Regions from separate parts of the Homo sapiens genome. Here regions 1, 2, 4, 5, 6 and 7 are each linked to region 3. Evidence: promoter capture Hi-C in 16 types of primary human blood cells and fetal thymus (Javierre and others, 2016). All regions are on one chromosome and are shown on one strand. The core of a region is centred on a gene start or on the middle of the fragment in contact, and the rest is flanking DNA. Distances in the headings are between cores, read along the strand shown. Region 1 overlaps TSTD2 (thiosulfate sulfurtransferase like domain containing 2). Region 2 overlaps TMEM38B (transmembrane protein 38B). Region 3 holds the start of RNF20 (ring finger protein 20). Region 4 holds the start of SLC44A1 (solute carrier family 44 member 1). Region 5 has its middle 43 kb from the start of FSD1L. Region 6 overlaps FKTN-AS1 (FKTN antisense RNA 1). Region 7 has its middle 6.2 kb from the start of TMEM38B.

Region 1 (2,700 bases), core at 81-2,580, 3.9 Mb before region 3:
TATTTTTAAAGTCAGATGGTGTAAAGGTTATGAAGAATAATCAGCAGGGTAGGGAGGCAGTGATGGAGAAGCCCTTCGAACACAGAGAGTAGGAAAAGCCTTTCTGCAGCAATAGCATTTGAGCAGAAACCTGAATTAGGGAGCGAGCCATGCAGTCATTAGGGTAAATAATACCAGAAAAGCAACAGGTACAACCCAAATCAATCAAGATGTGTGCCAGCACCTTCAGTTATAAACACTTTCTTCTTTTTGCCCCTTAATTTCAGAGCTATGAAAATTTCCTTCCTTAGAAGAAATAGTTCCCAAGACAGCCCCACTGTAATATGCCAGAAGAAATGTCAAAATCGCTACTGTGGCCAAATCTTGTCAAAATGGACACACTACAACCATCATACCATGTTGGTTCTTTTGTAAAGCAAAGGTGACAGGTGACAAGCACTAAGAGGCACACTGAGAAAAAGTATGGGCTTTGGTTTGTGCTGCAGCAGTTTGCCAAGCATGTGAACATGGGCAAGCTACTTAAGGTTTCTGAGTTCTAAATCTCTCTTGTGGAAATTGTGCATTGTAGTATCTACATTACAGTACTGTACTGTAGACTGGAAAGAAATATTAATATATAGTGTCTGGCACAAACTAGGGTTCAATGAATGGTAATATTATTAATATTTTAATTGAATGCTGTATTTTAAATTTAACATTAAAATTTTATTTAAAAATTAGCTGTGACAGATTATATTTTCCAAAAATGGCTGCAGCAGTATTTCTGGTCCATTTCCCTAAGCCTAGGCAGGCTTGTTAACTACTCCCAAAAATAAAGCGTGATGGAAGCAATGCTGTATGACTGAGGTTGGGTTCTCAAAAGGATACGCTAGTGCAAGCTCTCATTCTGAGATGCTCACGCTGAGGAGACCAAACCACTGTATTGTGAGTAAGCCAATCCAACCCATGCAGAGACCACACACAGAGAACCAGGTGGAGAGGAACAGAGGCCTCCAGCTGACAGCCAGCATCAACCACTAGACCCTTCAGATTCCAGATTGGCCTCTGAGCTGAGAGCAGAGACAAGGTGTCCCTGTTGTGCCCTGTCCAAATTCCTGCCCCACAACATAACAACTGGTTATTTCATATTACTAGTGAACTGGCAAAGTTAGTTTCTTCAGGACAATATTGAAGGAGGCAGCCAGAGGTGGACACTGAAGGTTCTGAAAATAGTAACATGCAAAGTAGTCCCAAACTCCACAAGAGGGAGCAGAAAAAGCACCACTAAGAATGAGAGAAAGGAAGGTGGGAGACACTGGTGACAAACTTTGCCAATTCACAACTCTGCCTACAGGGTACCTCAACCAGGTGAAGGCAACAAGGAGCAGTTTATGTGTGGGGGAACACACACTGCTTGTTAACAATGCTGGATAGGACTGATGGAGACTAAACATACACAGACACACACAGGCAATACCAACTTTCTTATAAAGGACCTTTGTTCCTTGGATTCATAAATTAAGATGTCACTTGCACCACATAAAATGCATTTGAATCAGCTAAGTGGTGCTTTCATGGGGCTCAAAATGAGCTTTGTTATAAGGGTAAGGCAAGGTAATACAGATTTATTAAACCTAAATTCTCTTGTATTTGAAAAATAAGTGGAAGAGACTGGGTGAAGAAATACTACCTTCTTTAGCTTCTCTTTCCTTTCTCATGAAAATGTCTTTCATATAAAGTCCCACTGAAAAAAGTACATCCCTAACTCTACACAAACCTGTAAGCCTTCCAGGCAGAAGTAAAATAAGTAGAAGAATCTTATTCAACACACTTCCTCCATGCTCAAAGCTGTTTTATTGTAAAGGTAGAGAAAGTACATATATCATTTCCAAATTAAAATTCATTCAACAAATATTTATGGAGGGTCTTCTAGGTTCCAGGCATTGTTCTAGAAACAGATAACTTATTTACCTATAAGGGCAGTACATTTGGGAGGTAACATTGTCGAAAGGAATTACTATCCAATCCGGTCCCACCTCCAGCATCTTTTCCAATCTCCCTCTATATGACCTGATGTAGTCTGTCCCAGCATTTATGCTTTCCACTGCTTTGTTTCCCTTACTTTTTCACTTCTTTCCCTCCCCATATGCTTACTATGTATATGAAGACTGAACTCAAGTGTCACCTTTCACTTATGTCTTGTCTGCTACCCTGTGTCACTGCTTCCTTTGAAGGCCTGAAAAACTTAGTTTCCCTATACTCTAGGCTCATCTCTGACTATGCTCCCCATTCCCCATCAGATATCCTACTCTAGCCACACTGGACCATGCCCAGTTCCACAAATGAGCCATGTTCTTTCCTGACTCAAGGTCTCTGCACCTGAGTGTGGGGTGCCTTTCCCACCACCCCAAAATGATCTCCTCCGACTCTGCATCTTTTTTCAGTCTCAGCTTATTTTGATTTATGTACATACTCTGAATTATTATTATTTGTGGCACCTCTGCTATGTGCCGGGCCCATGGAATAGTCCTGGGAATGCAGCTATGAATGAAACAGTTGAAGTACCTGCTCTCTTGGAGCTTATATTCTGGTAAGGAGAGACATTAAGTAAGTAATAAACAAACAAACAAACAAACAAACAAATCATGAAAATACCAGCTAGGGATAACGGCCCCTGCTTCTCAGTTTCCTTTGCTGGATCTTCCTTATTACCCCAACCTC
Region 2 (2,700 bases), core at 51-2,550, 4.2 Mb after region 3:
AAATATATAACAGGAACACTTACAGTTCATTTTTATTGTGATAATTTTAAAATGAATATGTAACCAGTTCTAAAAGGGATATTACAAATAATAGTAGCAATGGGAAAAAGTAATCCTGGGAACCTATGGCAATGTTGAGTTGTTACGATATGTCAGTTAAGTTCTTTATATTCATTGTTATATTTAATCAGAGGAGTACTATAAGGTAGCTATTATTATTTCCATTTGACAAATGATAAAATTGAGGCATAGGGAAATGCTGCTATAACTTTCTTGTCTAGTAAGTGGTTGAGCTAGAATCAAAACAAGAAGTTTTTAACTTTAGAGTCTTCACACTTTGTAGCCACTATCTCTCACAGATTTGTTTAACCATCTCTTAAAGTGTAGTCTTCCAGTTGCTATGTGTTTTAAAAAACTTTCCCAAAGACTTTTATTTCTATAACAATATTTTTAAAAGTTATTAGCATTTTGGAAGAATTTTTTGATGTGTATAGATGCTGAAACTATACAAAAAGGAAGATATCCAGAATTTGATACTTTCTGTTATTTCTACTTCTGTTCCTATAATACTAACCTCCTGGATGATTGCAGGAGCTTCCTAAGTGGTCTTGCTGCTTCTTTGATTATCCCTTTGAGTCTATTCGTTATTCTTCATGGAGCAGACAAAATTATTACAGTTGGCCTTCTATACCCATGGGTTTTGCATGCTTGAATTCAACCAGCTGCAGATCAAAAATATTTGGAAAAAAATCCAATAAAAAATAACAATGCAACAATAAAAATAATGCAAATAACAATAATGTGTAACAACTATTTGTATAGTATTTACACTGTATTAGGTATTATAAATAATCTAGAGATGATTTAAAGTGTAGTGGAGGATGTGTGTAGGTTATGTACAAATCCTCTGCTATTTTATATAGGGGCTCTCACATTCACAGATTTTGAAGGAGAATCCTGAAACCAGTCCCCTACAGATACTGAGGGACAACTTAAGTTAGAACATGTCACTCATGTGCTCAGTAATTTCTTATCTTATTAAGAACAATATCCCAAACTTTTACCATGGCCTGTAAAACCCTGCAAAATACTCGCTTTCACTTTCTTTTATGTAACGTCTTACAACTCTATTCTTGCTCAGTTTGCTCTAGTCACATGAGCTTTGCTATTTCTTGAATGTTCCAACGTAAGGTATTCTTCTACCTCAATGCCTTTGTACTTTCTTTCTTCTCTTTGTAATCTTTTTTTCCTCAGAAGTCTCATATTTTGTTTTATCAGAGAGGCCTTCCCTGACTAAAGTAGCACCTCCTCTCCCATGACTATCACATCATCCTTCTTTATTTTTCTTCTTAGAATTATTGCTATCCAACATGTTATCTGTTGATTTTTTTTTTTATGTTGCTCTAACTATACTGGAATAATAGCCCATCAGAGAGTGAGCCATCATGCCTGGCCCCTGGCTAATGTTTAAAATTTTTATATTTGTTGAGATGAGGTCTCACTATGTTTCCCACGTTGGCTATTTTTTTTTTTTTTACTGTCAAAGTTATTTATTCACTATACATAGAACATGTCCCCTATAAAATGTACATGTAAATCACTAAAAAGTAAAATTTGGTGAACATTTTCTCAATTACAGAACATACTACATCAGTTGGGATAATAGCTGTCTACCTTAAAATAATCTAATTATAGCACCCAGTCTCGTTTATATCTAATGCAAAGTTAAATACTTATTTTGGGGGTTATTTCCTAGTATGTGTTTGGTGAGGCTGAGTAAACAATTTAATATAACTCCAGTATATTACAGTCACTGCACAATAAATCAGTTTATTACAGATTAAAACAAATCATTTTTTAATTATTTGTAATAATGGGATCAGACAAACACGGGATAATTTTAAATGGCATATAACCACACAATTACTTATCTTTGATAGTATATTGGGTTCTATAATTATATTAAGATATGAATGGTGTAAAATATTGTAACGAATAATACATCTCAAACAAGACAATTAGGCCATACTGTAATCATTCACTAGATTGTACCCAGTAGACATTTACTGAATAAGGGAATTATCTACTTTTCTCCTCAATTAACCAGTACAATGTTTTGCCCACAGTGTCAGCACTCAATAAATATTTGCTGAACATACTGACTAGGATAGAGGTGAGAAGAGATGGGCCCTCTTAGCTGGATGTCGAATATAATTGGAATTTACCTGGGAAGGAGAGTAGTTAAGGAAGATGTAAACTGCATGTGGTGTACAAGTAAATAAACGCAGATGCCAACAAAGCCAATGATTAAGCAGAAAACACTGACACCAAAATAAACAAAGGCAAGATTTGCCAATAATGGCGAAAATGGAACTTTTATATTGGACCATAACTTTTCCCACCTAAATCAGTTTGAGGCAGACCAACAGAGGCACTGTAAGAGACTACGGCTGTCTTCCTTGATATTCAGACATCCTAGTTTCCAATAATTTATTATGGACCTATTACCCATGAATCAATATACGCTTATTCATATTTAGGGATTAGTTTCCGCAAGTACAAAGTTGAATGTCCTTTTATTTGTCCTAAAATGCTTACTTTCAAACTTGAGGGGACTTCAATTATTCCATGTAGTTTTCGATAACATTCTTTTATCTTTTCAGACCAGAGTCAAAATATTTGTACAGTATTCATACTGCA
Region 3 (2,760 bases), core at 45-2,544:
TTGCCATTCAGTAGTTCTATGAATGAAAGGCTTGCTAAGAGTAGAGGAACCAAAGAAGATGAGAGAATGAGTGTCATTGTCTCATACAATGCTTTTCGGCAGGTGTGTCCCCACTCACATGTTCTCAGGCTCCCACTTCACGGAATGAAATGTGAAGTCCACTTGGGGCCAGTTAATTCTTTCCAAGATAGTCAAGGTGTTCCACTGCCAGGCACCAGGAACACTTGTTTCCCTGGTGTTGACCATCTTACTTCATTTACAGGTAAGCCCTAGCAGGTACAGGGACAAAAGTCTTCACACTAACAGAAATCCAGTGTAGATTAGCTTCTTTTTTTCCCAAGATGCCTAAATTCTATTTTTTAAAAAAGATATAGCGATCATTCTTCCATTTCTAGACCCTTAGCTGACGTCATTAGGTAGTTTATCATAGTTCTGCGAGACATACAGCTTTTCATTAATAGGTTAGATTAATTACCGTCCTATCATTAAAACGCATTTAGTTTAACTGAATGGAAAATAGCAGTTTGTCATAAACTTAAAAAAAAAAATCAATGCTTAATTAGCTTAAAATAGACTAGTACTGAGATCAGAGACTGATTGGCGTTTATCTTTTCCCTGGACAATTTCTTGTTCCCAAAAAAGCACAAGGGCAGTAGTTGTCACTCCTGCTTACGCATTAGAATCTAGTGGATGGAAATGCGGGGTTTGGGGGGAGGAGATGAGGGGAACGCTTTTTTAAAAAAGCTTTTGTCCAGGCCAAGTGATTCTAATGTGTAGACAGGGCAGAATACCGCTCCCTGTGCGGGGGAAAAAATCCCCAACATCTGAAATTCCTCAAATCCCTCAGATTCTCTCCAGAACTCTTCATTTCAGCACGTAGGGGTACCAACGAACAATTTTCTGAGGTGTCTGAGGCTAGTCATGTCCCCGGAGATTGACGGGACCGTCAGCCAATCGGCCGTCTGAACGAGTGATGGCAACCCCAATGACAAGCAACAGAATGAGGAACTTTATCCCCGCAGAAAGACCAGATCGCAGTAGCAAAGGTCAACAAGTCAACAAAAGCCAAGGGCTCTCCGTCAGGCATCAGCGAGGCCCGAGTACTCTTAGAGGTCGTAGCCAGGAGAGGGTCCCGCGCTTGCCCAGCGTTGCTAGGGAGGCGGCGCTTGCTCAAGCTTCTCGTGCCCTCTCCGTACGTCACTTCCGCCCGGCGGGGTCTCATAGTCCTATGGGCTGGGTTGAAGCCACTTCCTTTTTTCTTTCCCTTTTTCCTCTCCGTGGCCCCGCCTCCCGGAAGTTCTGCCTTGTCTCCGCCGCGGGTCAGGGGTGAGAGCTGGAATCTCTGCACGGGCCTTGGTGAGTAACTGCTGCGAGTTCTGTTCCCGCGCGGCGCCAGTTCAAAGAACTTAGGTTAGATCACGCTTAGGGCCCAACAGGACTGTGCCAGGCCTCAGGAGTCTCCACCCTCTCCAGTTTTGGGGCCGTCAGTCTCCTGGGCCTGCAATTATCCACGCTGAGGCTGAGGTCTTTGGCTTTTAGCGAGTTGGATTGCAGCCTTGTTCTGCTTCTGTGTCTTCTCTCTCCAGGCGAGGTCCTACTGAGGTTGTTGCCAGCGATAGTCCTCTCCTGGAGCTTGAATTGGAAGCAGAGTAGTCTTGTTAGTCTCGGTGATGGCTGCGTTGTTTCCTGAAGTAGCCAAAGTGCTTTAGCATCCATTCCGCCTCCTTTGAGCACCCTGGGAGGTAGGCAGGGCAGACGAAAAATATATTCGTTAATATTGTGCAGTTGAGGAAACTGAAGCTCTTGGCGAATTCACTGTTTCAAAGCAACACGGCCTCTAACAGGCAGAACTGAAATTCGCACCCAGGTCTAACTAACGTAGGGTTGCATAAAACAGTGGAGAGAGCGTTTGGAAATAGGGAAAACACTGCAAACGTTAAAGAAGAGCTGGGGTTTCTGAGTGCTTACTTTGTGTTCGGCTTTGTGCCAAATTCTTTCTATAATTATATCATCCATTTTATTTTATAATAAGCATAGGAAGTATATACTGTGGTTATTTATTCCTGGGTTAGGAAACTGAGGCTTAGAGATGATAACTGACTTGTCTAGTACTAATGACTTTAGTAGGCATTTCACAGATCTCTTTCAGCTCTGTGATTCTTTCAACACTGTAGTATTAACTTCTGGCATAATCAAACTGCCCTTTTCTGATTTTGGCATTACAGGAAGAGAGATTCCAGAACTTTATTTTTGGTCTCTTCACCCTTTGCCCATTGTCTCATTTCTTATCACCATTCTTATCACCATCCTATTTAGAAATTTATAGTCATGTAAATTTAGCCTTGACTTTCTTTTTTTTTTTTTTTTGAGACGGAGTCCCGCTCTGTTGCCCAGGCTGGAGTGCTGTGGTGCGATCTCGGCTCACTGCAAGCTCCGCCTCCCGGGTTCAAGTGATTCTCCTGCCTTAGCCTCCCGAGTAGCTGGGACTACCGGCGCCCGCCACCACGCCTGGCTAATTTTTTGTATTTTTAGTAGAGACGGGGTTTCACCGTGTTAGGCAGGATGGTCTCGATCTTCTGACCTCTTGATCCGCCCGCCTCGGCCTCCCAAAGTGCTGGGATTACAGACATGAGCCACCGCGCCCGGCCCGCCTTGACTTTTACTCTACAATTTAATTTTTTTTTTTTTTCCTCAAAGAGAAATATGGAGATGGTTGTGGAATTAATGGATCCAGGTTAAAGGGTTGGCCAGAAAAGTTGC
Region 4 (2,700 bases), core at 40-2,539, 3.7 Mb after region 3:
TTCCAACTTTCCTTGGCTTAGATTCCCTTTCAGTGCATGTAAAGTCAATTTAATTCTGTGTTCTTTTCTTCCCTCTATACTTTAACTAATCTTTAAAACTTGATGTCTCATATTTGGTGAATCAGTCCTTTTGGAAGTCTCACTCCCTTGCAGCTTTGCAAATAAAGTTTTTCTTTTCTTTCCTGTGGCTGTCTTTTGAGACATTCTTTGACAAGATGAAATGACATATGAAGGCTATAACAGTGCCTGATAATGTGGGGTTTTTTTTAACATCATTATCTTTAGTTTTATTTCTTTCACTTTTTAACTGTTTTCACCTCATACTGTATTTCCTAACGACTCGTTTGGAATTGTAAATTTCTTGAAGGTAGTTACCACGTCTACTCTAACTTGTTGCTACTTCCTTGAGTCTTACTGATTTAGCAACAGGAACTTGGTAAGTCTCTTTTGCTCGCCTCTTTATTCCCAGTACTAGTCACTGGAACGTAGTGTGTCTTCAGTAAGTATTTTTAATATGAATAAATTAATGTCCCCTTATTGTTTTTTGTAGACTATCCTGTATAAGAAAGTTTAGCTTAGATCCAGTATGGCTTTGACTTGCGAGCCTGGATAACTTTTTGCCTTTTCCTCATTTCTGGCTATTTATTACCATTTCAACCTTGGGAACATTTCATTAGGTTCTTGGTCCCTTTCAAGCCTCAGTTTCCACATCAGCAAAATGGGGACAGTAGCAACAGATGCTTGTTTCTTCCCGTCTTCTTATCACCTATTCCTTCTCCAGGAAAGGTTTCTTGTGTACGCTTTCCTCTGGAGAAAAAAAACAGCCGACGGGGCGGTAAGAAGCCATCAGGATCCTGAGTTGTGCGTCCAGTAGGGAGAGGGAGAAGTCCCGCTTGCCTCCTAGATCCGGAAGCAATCCGGCCCCTTTTTGGCAGCGAGTTGGCCCGGTCTTTGGCTGCCTCAGACCGCGTTGCCCTCCAGCCTCGAGGCAGAGAGCTGCCTCGGTGCCACAGCTAAATAAGCCCGGCGCCGCGCAGCCTCTGACACGCGCGGAAGGGCCCGGCCTTGTTCTGGCTGCCGCCGCCCTGCCACCAGCACGGCGCTGCACTGGGGGCGGGGAGTCTGATGGGAGACGCGCGCGGCGCTGAGGAGGCGGCGGCCCGGGAGAGGGAGCGGGAGAGGGACTGGGCGCGGGAGGCGGGAGGCGGGGGGACAGAGGGAGGCGCCGCCGCCGCCGCCGCCCGCCCCTTTCCGCTGGGGAGCAGCTGCTGCAGCAGGAGCAGAGCAGGAGACGCGTAGCCGCCGTCGCCGCCGCCGGGGGATGTGGCCGGCGCCTGCCTCTAGCCGCGCCGCCTCTTGAGTACCAGCCGCCGCTGCAGCCGCCGCCGCCGCCTAGCCGTGCGGTGCCAGGCCGCGCCCTCCCCGGGCGCCCGCCGGCTCGCATGCCGAGGGGCTCCGGGGCGTAGCTGCGCGCCCGGCGCCGCCTCCGGGCTCCTTCGGCCCCGCCATGGGCTGCTGCAGCTCCGCCTCCTCCGCCGCGCAGGTGAGGGGCTCCCGCCTCCCGGCCGCCCGCCCGGATGCCTCCCGTGCGCCGCGTCGCGCGGCGGGCGCCCGCCGCCCGATACCTCTCGCTGTCCCCAGCCTCCCCTGAGCGCACCGTGCAGTCCAAAGACCCCCACTCCGCCTTTCCGTCCGCCGGGTCCCGCCGATGCCCGTGCGCTGGCTCCGCGGCTGCCGACTCAAAGGCGCCTCTGCGCGGCGCCTAGTGCGCCCTCAGCTCTTCCCGGCCCCTTCCCCAGTCGGCCCCCTCCTCCCAGTCACACCTGAGCTGCCCGTCCCGCCCGCCTGCAGGTAGAGGCTGCACTGGCGCCTCCTCTGCCCCAGGTGGCATCCCCTTCCCTGTTCTTCCGGGCCTGGCTCCTCTCTTCCACCTCCGTGGAGTCTCCCCGCCATCCGCCGCCCGTTTTCTGTGCTCCTCGCAGGTGTACCCCCAGCAAGAGCTCTTCACCTCTCCCACCGAATTCCAGTTTCTGCTTCATTAGATATTCTGTCCCTTTTCTCTTGCCCGCTGCCCCCTGGCTGGGTTCAGATGGTTTCAGCGGGTCCCGGAGCCCTTCCACGGCCCGCTCCGCAGACCTCGCTTGCTCGCTTGCACCCCATCCCCCCTTAGTGCCGTGACCCGGGCCCCGCGGCCTCCCCGCACTCGGAGGCCCCTGCGGGAGCGCCGACTCTGGGCTGGGAAGGAGATTGGGCACCTGGTGGGTGACGGGAGCGCTACGGAAACTCCCTCTTTGTTGCCAGTGTAACAGGAGGAAGAGGTTCCGAATTTAGTTTTTCTGTGGGCACTGGCTGAATGTTGTCGCTGAGGGCTGAGATGCAGAGATTTCTCTCAGCTTCTACCCTGCCCCCATCCAAATTTCGCCAACCTCCTTCTCTCGGATCCGAGCCCTTAACCTGGGTGGAAATGTTTAGACAACTGTACGAGGATCAAATGTAATAGAACTCGACTACTGGCCACTAATAACTGAGAGGACCTGTTTGTAAATTACCTAATTTAGTGGATTAGCGAGTGTATTTACAAATACTATAAAAAGCAATCAGGAATACTGCATCAAACTGTCTTGTGGTGGTGTATGAAAAATAGGCTCTGACAACGCCTGGGATGTAATCTCACAGTTTCATTAGCGTAGTTTCATTAAC
Region 5 (2,822 bases), core at 70-2,569, 3.9 Mb after region 3:
GTTTGGAGATATTTGCCTTTCAGGGGAAAAATTACCCTGACAACAGTGGGGAGTATGGCATGGGGTGAGTTGCTTCTGGGCCAGGAAAACAAAGTGAAGAGACCATTGTAAATATACCATGTGATTCAGAATGAGAATTCCAACTAGGGCACTAGCAATAAGAATGGAGAGAAAAGGCAGGAGAATCGCTTGAACCTGGGAGGCGGAGGTTGCAGTGAGCTAAGATTGTGCCACTGCACTCCAGCCTGGGTGACAGAGCAGGACTCATCTCAAAAAAAAAAAAAAAAAAAAAAGAATGGAGAGAAAGGGATATATTTAAAAGCTAATGGAGGGATAGAATCATCAAAAACGGATGATTGGTTGGTGTAAGGGGCCAAGTGAAAGAAAGACAGGAGTGAAGCGTGAATCTCCAGGTCCTGGTTTGCATGCAATGCTGCATTGGAAAATAATTTACTTTTCACCTGGAAAGAACCACTTTAAGATGAAGCCGTATTTACTTTCATAAAGAGACAAGATAAAATAACAGAAAAAGCACTGATGTAGGATTTGGAGTATTTGAATTTATTGCCAGTGCCTCCAGTCCAGTCATGGGTTGTTTGTCCTCTCTGCCTATTTTCTTGACTATAAAATGTTATATGCTCAGCCTGTGCTGTAGGACTACGATGATAAATAAATGAACTTAGGGGATAGGAATATGCTTCGAAAGCAGTTAAATACAACAGAGTTGTTATCTCCTTATTTTCTGATGCCTAAAGGAGACAGCATCGTATAAGGAAGAGAACAAAGGTTTGGCACTATGGATATAGATTTGAATCTGTCTCTGCCTCTTGCTGTAGAAGCTGGGTAACCTGCGAAAGCCACAAAAGCTTTTTGAGGCTCAGGATCTTCCTTTGTAAAATGGGAATAGTCATGTTTTATAGGGATTGTGTAAGACAATGATAATTTTTTCATTTCACTCATTCATTAGCTAACAGATATTTAATGAGTACCTACTACGTGTTAGAAGCCAAGAATATAAAAGTGAACAGAACAAGCTAGAGTCTCCACGCTAGTTTTATGTATAAAAGCTAATGGTGGCTAGGCGCGGTGGCTCACATCTGTAATCCTAGGACTTTGGGAGGCCAAGGCGGGTGGATCACTTGAGGTGAGGAGTTTGAAACCAGCCTGGGCAACATGGTGAAACTACATCTCTACTAAAAATACAAAAAATTAGCTGGGTGTGATGGCGGGCACCTGCAATCCCAGCTACTCGGGAGGCTGAGGCAGGAGAATCTCTTGAATCGGGGAGGCGGAGGTTGCAGTGAGCCGAGAATGTGCCACTGCACTCCAGCCTGGGCGACAGAGCAAGACTCCATTTAAAAAAAAAAAAAAAGCTAATGGTGGGATGATATGATTGAAATGGCAGAGCAGGAAATTCCAAAACTCCATCATTCCACAAAAACGATGATCAAATTGACAAAAACTGTCCAATCAATTTTTACCAAATTCTAGAATCTAATAAAGAACTTACACACCTAGGCAAATGCTAAATAAAGACATTTCAGTAAGAGCATTGAGGCATGTTAACTTATCTGCATACCATCTCCACTCACCAGCTTAGCAGCATCTGTGAAAGTGGTGGCTCATGTTTCTGATGTGGCTTGCCAATGCCCAAGTAAGCAATGTGTGGTTAGACCTTGTTCTCAAAAAAAAAATTGTGGTTGTGTGTTTTGAATTGTCTGGTGGCTCCCTGAATGATCAACTCAGGGGTTTATCTTTGTGTCACATGCCTCAGAAGCTTCTTAGGGTTGAAGTGATCTCCCAAGTGACATTTGTCAATGGCACTTAAAGGCTTATATACTAGCTGCAGCAACCTGTGGTGAAGAATAACAGATGCGGCAAACGGCAGACAGATGGAAGCCTGGGAAAGAAGAGGCTAGAAAAGGACATACACGGAGGAATAACAGCTTTCAAAAGCTCCTGCATATACTAGGAAATGTCCAAGGCCACACACATGCCCAGGGCTTGACACAGGAAGGACCTGAGAAGACCACAAACGTTCGCTTCTGGCTAACCTTTCGATGCAAGCAGGAAGTAAAGGCTAGAGCAGAGTTGTAAACAGTCTTGCTAAGGGTTAAGCAGTGCCCCCATAAAGAATGAATGTGCAAAGACTGGAAGGTGATCTCTTTTTTTTTGTGGCTCCAGGTATTTAAGGAAAACTCTGTCAAATCACTAGCTGACCATAAACTAACAAAACAGAGACTTCAGTGGCCACACACACACACACCAAAGAATACAGTCTCTACAATACATAGTTCAGAAAAGTCATTAAACAAATAAACAACGATAACCCACAATAAGCCAGCAACTACAAACCCTAGGGAGGAGGAAGAATCTGATTTCCAGAGTTGCCACATTATAATATGCAAAATGTCCAGTTTTCAACAACAAGAAATTACAAGGTACACAAAGAAATAAGAAAGTACAGCCTATTAACAGTAGAAATTAACAGAAACTGGCCAGACGTGGTGGCTCACACCTATAATCTCAATACCTTGGGAGGCTGAGGCAGGAGGATTGCTTGAGGCCAGGAGTTCAAGACCAGCCTGGGCAACATAGTGAGACCCCATGTCTACCAAAAAATAGAAAAAGTAGCCGAACATGGTGGCGTGCATCTGTAGTCCCACCTACTCAGGAGGCTGAGGTGGGAGGCTTCCTTGAGCCCACGAGTTCAAGGCCGCAGTGAGCTGAGATTGAGCCACTGCACTCCAGCCCGGGTGACAGAGCAAGACTTCATCTCTTTAAAAAAAATTTTTTTAAAAAGAAACTGTCTTTGAAGAAGC
Region 6 (2,700 bases), core at 95-2,594, 4.0 Mb after region 3:
GGCTCTCCAGGACCCTTCTCTTGTTACCTACCTAAGGTAAGCTAACTAACCGGATCCCCACACTCTTGCTGTGCCTCTCTTCATGGGATGAAAAATTGAGGAGCCAAGGGACTATGCCTACTTGGAATCCATGTTCCTTTACCCACAGAATTCTATACTATGTTATCAGCCAGAACCCCAGGATTCCTTGCCTCATCAGCCTGAAGCTTGCTTCCAGGATATGTGCAGGCCTTTTGTCCAAATCCATCCTGAAAAAAGACTACTACAGATGTATATACCCCTATGGCTGGCAGTTTGTGGGAAGTACAGATGAAGCTTGGATGTGCAGACTGAGTTGTCCACATGCATGCATGATAGGCCCCTGTGGCAGGCTTAAGCTAGAAGTAAAAAGAGACCCAGGGGATCAGGGAAGGGCAGGCCAACCTAGTATCACTTTCTAGTACACTTCTGAAGAATCTGCGAATCGCATATTTGAACCTAGATTTCTGTTCCTTGAGAATACATGTTAAAGTAGAAGAGTATAACATTTTATTTGTTGGTTAACGCTCAGCTATTTAGACACTGAAAATATGTCAGGGTTGGCTTTCATTTGTATTCTTGGCCCAGACCCTACAAATGTTAGGAGTCGGCCAGGATCCTTACATGTGTGCACAGCTGAGTGGTTTATAGAACATGAATATTTACTTGTAAGAGAGGCTGTTTTTATGCATCCTTGTACCCACTCTTTCAGCTGTATTTGCTATCCAGATTAAAGCATACTGACTTGACGTTTGCCATGAGCTGAGGGCTCACATTTGACCTTTCAGTATGCTTGATAAGTAACACTGCCACCAGTTTAGTTGTATATTTACCTTCAGTTATGTTTGTTCCCAAACCTGCTTATGTAGGTGGTAGTCACTGTTGTAGTCATGTAAGTATGTAAACCAATTATATAAATATATAAACCAAAATAAATATGAAATGAGTATGAAAAGGTACTTATAAGAAAAGTACGAGAACCATTAGAGATGAAGAGTTTAAAAAGTTGCAAAGTTAGTTGTGGCCAAAGTAATTGTGAGTGATAGGGGAAGATTTTTAAAAATAAATTCCAGGACTCCAAATTTATATTCCTTCACTTGTATCTTTAAGTTCCTGGTCCATTTTACAGAAACAGAAACTACAAATGATGGATGATGCATTATGTCTATGGTTTTGTAAGAAAAACAGTGAGATACTCTAATCAGCTGGTCCATGCTTAAAATGAACTTAGTTCAAAACAGAAGATTGGCCATTGTAACCCTCTACTGAAACTGCCTTTTTGAGAAGGTTTATTCAGAACTAGATTTGTTATACACTTGGAAAGTATTTATTTCTAAGAACCTGATAATTTTTCCCTTTTCCTGTTACTTTTAATTATAATTTCCAAATATACAGAAAAGTAGAAAGCCAGTGCTTTGTGCTCATCACCTAATCAATTGTTAACATTTTGCCATGTTTGTGCTATCTATTTTGTTTTAAAATGTCACCTGTAAGTATGCTATATGCATCCATGATGGCTTTTAAAAACAGCCACATTCTGTTAACATTCTTAGCAAAATTAACAGTAATTCTGTACTATTATCTAATGGATCAGTCCATACTAAAATTTCAGTTGTCTCAGAAGTATCTTTTTACAGTTATCTTGTTCAAATCAAGATCTAGACAGGGTCCACACATTGTACTCCGTTACATCTCTTAAATATTTGATTTTACAATAGTTCCCTCTGCTTTTAAATGCCATTTATGAAAAAAACTGAGGAATTTGTCTGGTAGAATGTCCCGTTTTCTGAATTTAGTTGCTTCTCTATATCCTGTATTAGATCTAGAGTTTGAGTAAATGCAGGTTCAATTTTTAGGCAAGAATCCTTCACAGGTGTGGCTGTGTACTTTCTATCACATCAGGAAGTACATAATATATGCTTGTCCCAAATTTAGTGAGATTAAGATCAGTGGGTTTAGGTGATGCCAGTCTATTATAAAGTTCCCCATCAACCTTTCACCTTAATTTTATCATCTATTGATGTTGCCCTTTCGATTATTTTATTAGGAGTTACAAAATCGTGATTGTTTTATCATCCTCCATTTATTAGCTGGAACTCTTATAAGTACTTTGGTTACACTAAAATTCAATTCATACAAGAAAGGCAGGATAAATGCTTGATGTTTTCCCTTATCAAGTTTTAGAATATTTAATCTTCAACTTGGCAATCTTCAATCACGACTGAATTTTATTTTTTAAGGAGTCATTATAAACTCAAGAATTTTTATATTTGATGTGTTTCAATCAATAGCAAGTATGTGATGCTCAAGTTTTCCCATGTCCCATCACGTTAGCACCTGTGTTAATGATGCCATTAAGCTTTGATAACTTACTTCCTCTTGGTGTAACCTTCCACTTTTTTTTATTAACCTACTGAGTACCTACCCGTTCTGAGTGCATTGGATGAGAGGACTTCAACAGTAAGCTTGTATGTGCATAGGAAATTTCTGGAAGGAAAAACAAAAAGTTGGTAAATGTCATAACCTGTAGGAAGTGAGGAAGATTTTTTCTTCCTTTTCTTTCTGTACTGATAGAATTAAAAACAAAGCTTAGAAAACAAATATATGATGGGAGTATTTTCCGTTTTGTAGAAATAAATTATAATTACAGTAACTGGTTTAGTGAATTATGGTTTTCAAAAA
Region 7 (2,700 bases), core at 34-2,533, 4.2 Mb after region 3:
CACAGCCATGTGCATTTTCTTTCAAACCTCACCCATCCATCTTATTCTTTTTTGTGACAGGGTCTTGCTCTGCTGCCCAGGCTGGTGTGCTGTGGTACGATCATATCTTACTGTAGCCTCAAACTCCTGGGCTCAAGTGATCCTTCCACCTAAGCCTCCCGAGTAGCTGGGACCAGGTGCACCTCACCACTCCTGGCTATTTTTTAAACATTTTGTAGAGATGGGGTCTCACTATGTTGCCCAGGCTGGTCTCAAACTTCTAGCCTCAAGAAATCCTCCCACCTTGGCCTCCCAAAGTGCTGGGATTGTAAGTATCAACTACCACACCTGGCGTCATCCACCCCATTTTCTAATCTCCTTCCTTTGCCTGTCATCTAGTATAACAAGATGCTAATTTATCGTGAAATTCCATTAGATCCCCTAAGACAAAAGATGCTACTTCTACATTCTGAAAAGACAATTAAGCCCTGTCTATGCAGGACTTAATAAAATATAACAGCTGGCCTAGTGAACTTCACTTTCAACAATCCAAGAGGTCAAGAATTTGAAGGGAAATTCATGGAAGGGAATTCAGAGGGCTAGAGGCTTTGCCTTCCTACTCCTCTCCCTGTGAAGAAAGAGGTGCTAACTTCCCCCAAGCCAATTCAGACTCTATTTAAGCAGATAAGAAATTATTTTTTCACGTAACAGGAAGTCTGAGAAGGACAGTTGATAACTTCAATGATCTGCTATTTTCTCTCATGGTCACAACATGGCTGCCCTAGCTCTAGGCAGAAAGACAAGGAGAAGGGCCAATGTCAAGGGCATAGTCCCTTTTATCAGAGAAGCCACATATTTTCATTGATCTATTTTTCTATTTTTTCACCAATATCGTACGTCTTGATTATCACCGTAGCTTTATAGTAAATCTTGAGGCTGGACAGTGTCAGTCCTTCAACTTTGTTTTTCCTTACTTTGTTTTCAGAAGCATGTCAACCTAGGTCCCCTGAAGTTTTATTTGCCAGTATCCTAACACAAGTTCACACCTTGCTGAGAGGCTGAACAAACTATATCTAATGTTTTAACCGGATACACAGAGTTGAATATGTGTGCTGGGTTATTCAACCAGTGGTGTCTGCCTTAACTGTAGAGGTTAGGAGATCTTGCTGTGTGAGCTCCATGGCATCATTGGGGAACCCACAAATAAACCCCATGAATGAGTCTGCATTGACAGCCTGCCATAGAGAAGAATATCAATAGCCAAAAGCAAACCAAGACAAAGAAACCAAAAAACAAAAACTATGACCAACATTTGCCAACTAGAAAGTCTTCTGTTCCTTTTCTCTAATTTCCCTCCTCACTGCCCTAACCCTAGAAGACATAGCAGATGAAAGGAGCAGAAGATGAAGAAAGGCTGGAGGACTCCACCATGCCCATTGCCCCATCAAAGTCTCTGAGACAGGCAGTCCTGAGCAAATGGGAGGAAAGAAGTTCTATATTGCATGTAAGATGGATGTTTTAACTGGACTGGACTTTTTATTTTATTTAAAAAATATCTTAAGTTAGCTGGGAATGGCAGCAGGCACCTATAATACCAGCTATTTGGGAGGCTGAGGCAAGAGAATCACTTGAACCTGGGAGGTGGAGGTTGCAGTGAGCCAAGATCCTACCACTGTACTCCAGCCAGGGCAATAGAGCGATACTCTGTCTTAAAAAAAAGAAAAAGAAAAAGAAAAAGAAATCTTAAATGACAACAAAGCAATGGGATCTGCTGAGATAATGTCAAAGAATGGGATGGGGTTACTAATGATTACTAATTGGTCTTCCTGGCCCTTATCTGGTGGGTGGCCTTTTCATTGCTGTAGGGATGCTGAATCTCTCTGTAAAGGAAAACTTCAAAAGAAGTATTTGGGTTCTGTTAGACAGGAGAAAACCTAGTAGGAGTACATAGGGAAGACTGATTGTAACAGAATAGTAACAAATTTTGGTCTGTCACTGCCCATGGTGACCTCTCTAGCACTTAGTTTCCTACTTTAAAATAAATGGGTTGGCCGAGCGCTGTGGCTCACGCCTGTAATCCTAGTGCTTTGGGAGGCTGAGGCAGGCAGATCACTTGAGGTCAGGAGTTGGAGACCAGCCTGGACAACATGGTGAAACCCCATCTCTACTAAAAATACAAAAATTAGCCGGGCGTGATGGCAGGTGCCTGTAATCCCAGCTGCTCAGGAGGATGGAATCGCTTGAACCTGGGAGGCAGAGGTTACAGTGAGCTGAGATCGCGCCACTGCACTTCAGCCTGGGCAACAGAGCAAGACTCACCCTCAAAAAAAGAAAAATAAATAAATTAAAAAATAAATAAAATAAAATAAACAGGTTAAAGAAAATGATTATACTAGACATCTCTTGGGATGTCTGCCTAGCTCCCTCCTTTCTCTTTATTTTTTTTGAGACAGTGTCTCACTATGTTGCTCAGGGTGGTCTCAAACTCCTGGGCTCAAGCGATCCTCCTGCCTTGGCCTCTCAAAGTCCTGGGAGTACAGGTGTGAACCACTGCACCCAGCCGCTCCTTCCTTTTTCAGGAAATTGCCTCTGATATGTAGGGATGCATCAGATCTGAACCACGTGACCCGGCCTCCCATCAGAACTGATTAACCAGGAGTGTACAGCTGTCCCAGGCCAGGACAGGGTCTTTCTCCTGGCAATATTCAATAGGGGGACCCA

The links. The method cuts DNA at HindIII sites, captures the fragments that hold promoters and counts their contacts. A CHiCAGO score of 5 or more calls a contact.
Region 1: a fragment that was not itself captured here is called in contact with the fragment with the promoter of RNF20 in region 3 in 2 of 17 cell types (fetal thymus and neutrophils); the score reaches 6.5 in fetal thymus.
Region 2: a contact is called between a fragment that was not itself captured here and the fragment with the promoter of RNF20 in region 3, in 5 of 17 cell types (non-activated CD4 T cells, total CD4 T cells, total B cells and 2 more). The highest score is 8.2, in non-activated CD4 T cells.
Region 4: a contact is called between the fragment with the promoter of SLC44A1 here and the fragment with the promoter of RNF20 in region 3, in 8 of 17 cell types (activated CD4 T cells, total CD8 T cells, total B cells and 5 more). The highest score is 15.6, in activated CD4 T cells.
Region 5: a fragment that was not itself captured here is called in contact with the fragment with the promoter of RNF20 in region 3 in 1 of 17 cell types (total CD8 T cells); the score reaches 5.0 in total CD8 T cells.
Region 6: a fragment that was not itself captured here is called in contact with the fragment with the promoter of RNF20 in region 3 in 7 of 17 cell types (naive CD8 T cells, total CD8 T cells, activated CD4 T cells and 4 more); the score reaches 13.3 in naive CD8 T cells.
Region 7: a contact is called between a fragment that was not itself captured here and the fragment with the promoter of RNF20 in region 3, in 6 of 17 cell types (total CD4 T cells, naive CD8 T cells, total CD8 T cells and 3 more). The highest score is 14.3, in total CD4 T cells.

Annotation. Positions count from the first base shown.
Region 1 is chr9:97,627,888-97,630,587 of GRCh38, forward strand. All of the region lies in intron 1 of TSTD2 (thiosulfate sulfurtransferase like domain containing 2), which reads right to left. Among named protein-coding and RNA genes, the nearest start is that of TSTD2, 4.1 kb to the right of the region's middle. The HindIII fragment of the contact is 6,117 bases long and covers 1-2,700 here.
Region 2 is chr9:105,707,471-105,710,170 of GRCh38, forward strand. All of the region lies in intron 2 of TMEM38B (transmembrane protein 38B), which reads left to right. It overlaps LOC107987107 (a long non-coding RNA gene), which reads right to left. Exons shown (of 4, transcript XR_001746868.2): 2 at 575-722. It also overlaps the pseudogene LOC100421293. Among named protein-coding and RNA genes, the nearest start is that of TMEM38B, 14 kb to the left of the region's middle. The HindIII fragment of the contact is 7,200 bases long and covers 1-2,700 here.
Region 3 is chr9:101,532,559-101,535,318 of GRCh38, forward strand. It overlaps RNF20 (ring finger protein 20), which reads left to right and starts at 1,295. Exons shown (of 20, transcript NM_019592.7): 1 at 1,295-1,356. It also overlaps a transcript of PGAP4 not described here. RefSeq lists an enhancer at 1,037-1,166. The HindIII fragment of the contact is 1,893 bases long and covers 1,174-2,760 here.
Region 4 is chr9:105,243,362-105,246,061 of GRCh38, forward strand. It overlaps SLC44A1 (solute carrier family 44 member 1), which reads left to right and starts at 1,290. Exons shown (of 16, transcript NM_080546.5): 1 at 1,290-1,543. The coding sequence starts at 1,508. It overlaps LOC112268038 (a long non-coding RNA gene), which reads right to left and starts at 2,232. Exons shown (of 3, transcript XR_002956866.2): 1 at 1,658-2,232. RefSeq lists enhancers at 932-1,836, 1,837-2,700 and silencers at 1,063-1,662, 1,673-1,812, 2,153-2,232. The HindIII fragment of the contact is 7,272 bases long and covers 1-2,700 here.
Region 5 is chr9:105,403,963-105,406,784 of GRCh38, forward strand. It overlaps a transcript of SLC44A1 not described here. Among named protein-coding and RNA genes, the nearest start is that of FSD1L, 43 kb to the right of the region's middle. RefSeq lists a silencer at 1,512-1,712. The HindIII fragment of the contact is 911 bases long and covers 865-1,775 here.
Region 6 is chr9:105,554,671-105,557,370 of GRCh38, forward strand. It overlaps FKTN-AS1 (FKTN antisense RNA 1), which reads right to left. Exons shown (of 3, transcript NR_184141.1): 2 at 2,444-2,505. Among named protein-coding and RNA genes, the nearest start is that of FKTN, 2.1 kb to the right of the region's middle. The HindIII fragment of the contact is 2,062 bases long and covers 314-2,375 here.
Region 7 is chr9:105,686,980-105,689,679 of GRCh38, forward strand. No RefSeq gene overlaps it. Among named protein-coding and RNA genes, the nearest start is that of TMEM38B, 6.2 kb to the right of the region's middle. The HindIII fragment of the contact is 8,166 bases long and covers 1-2,700 here.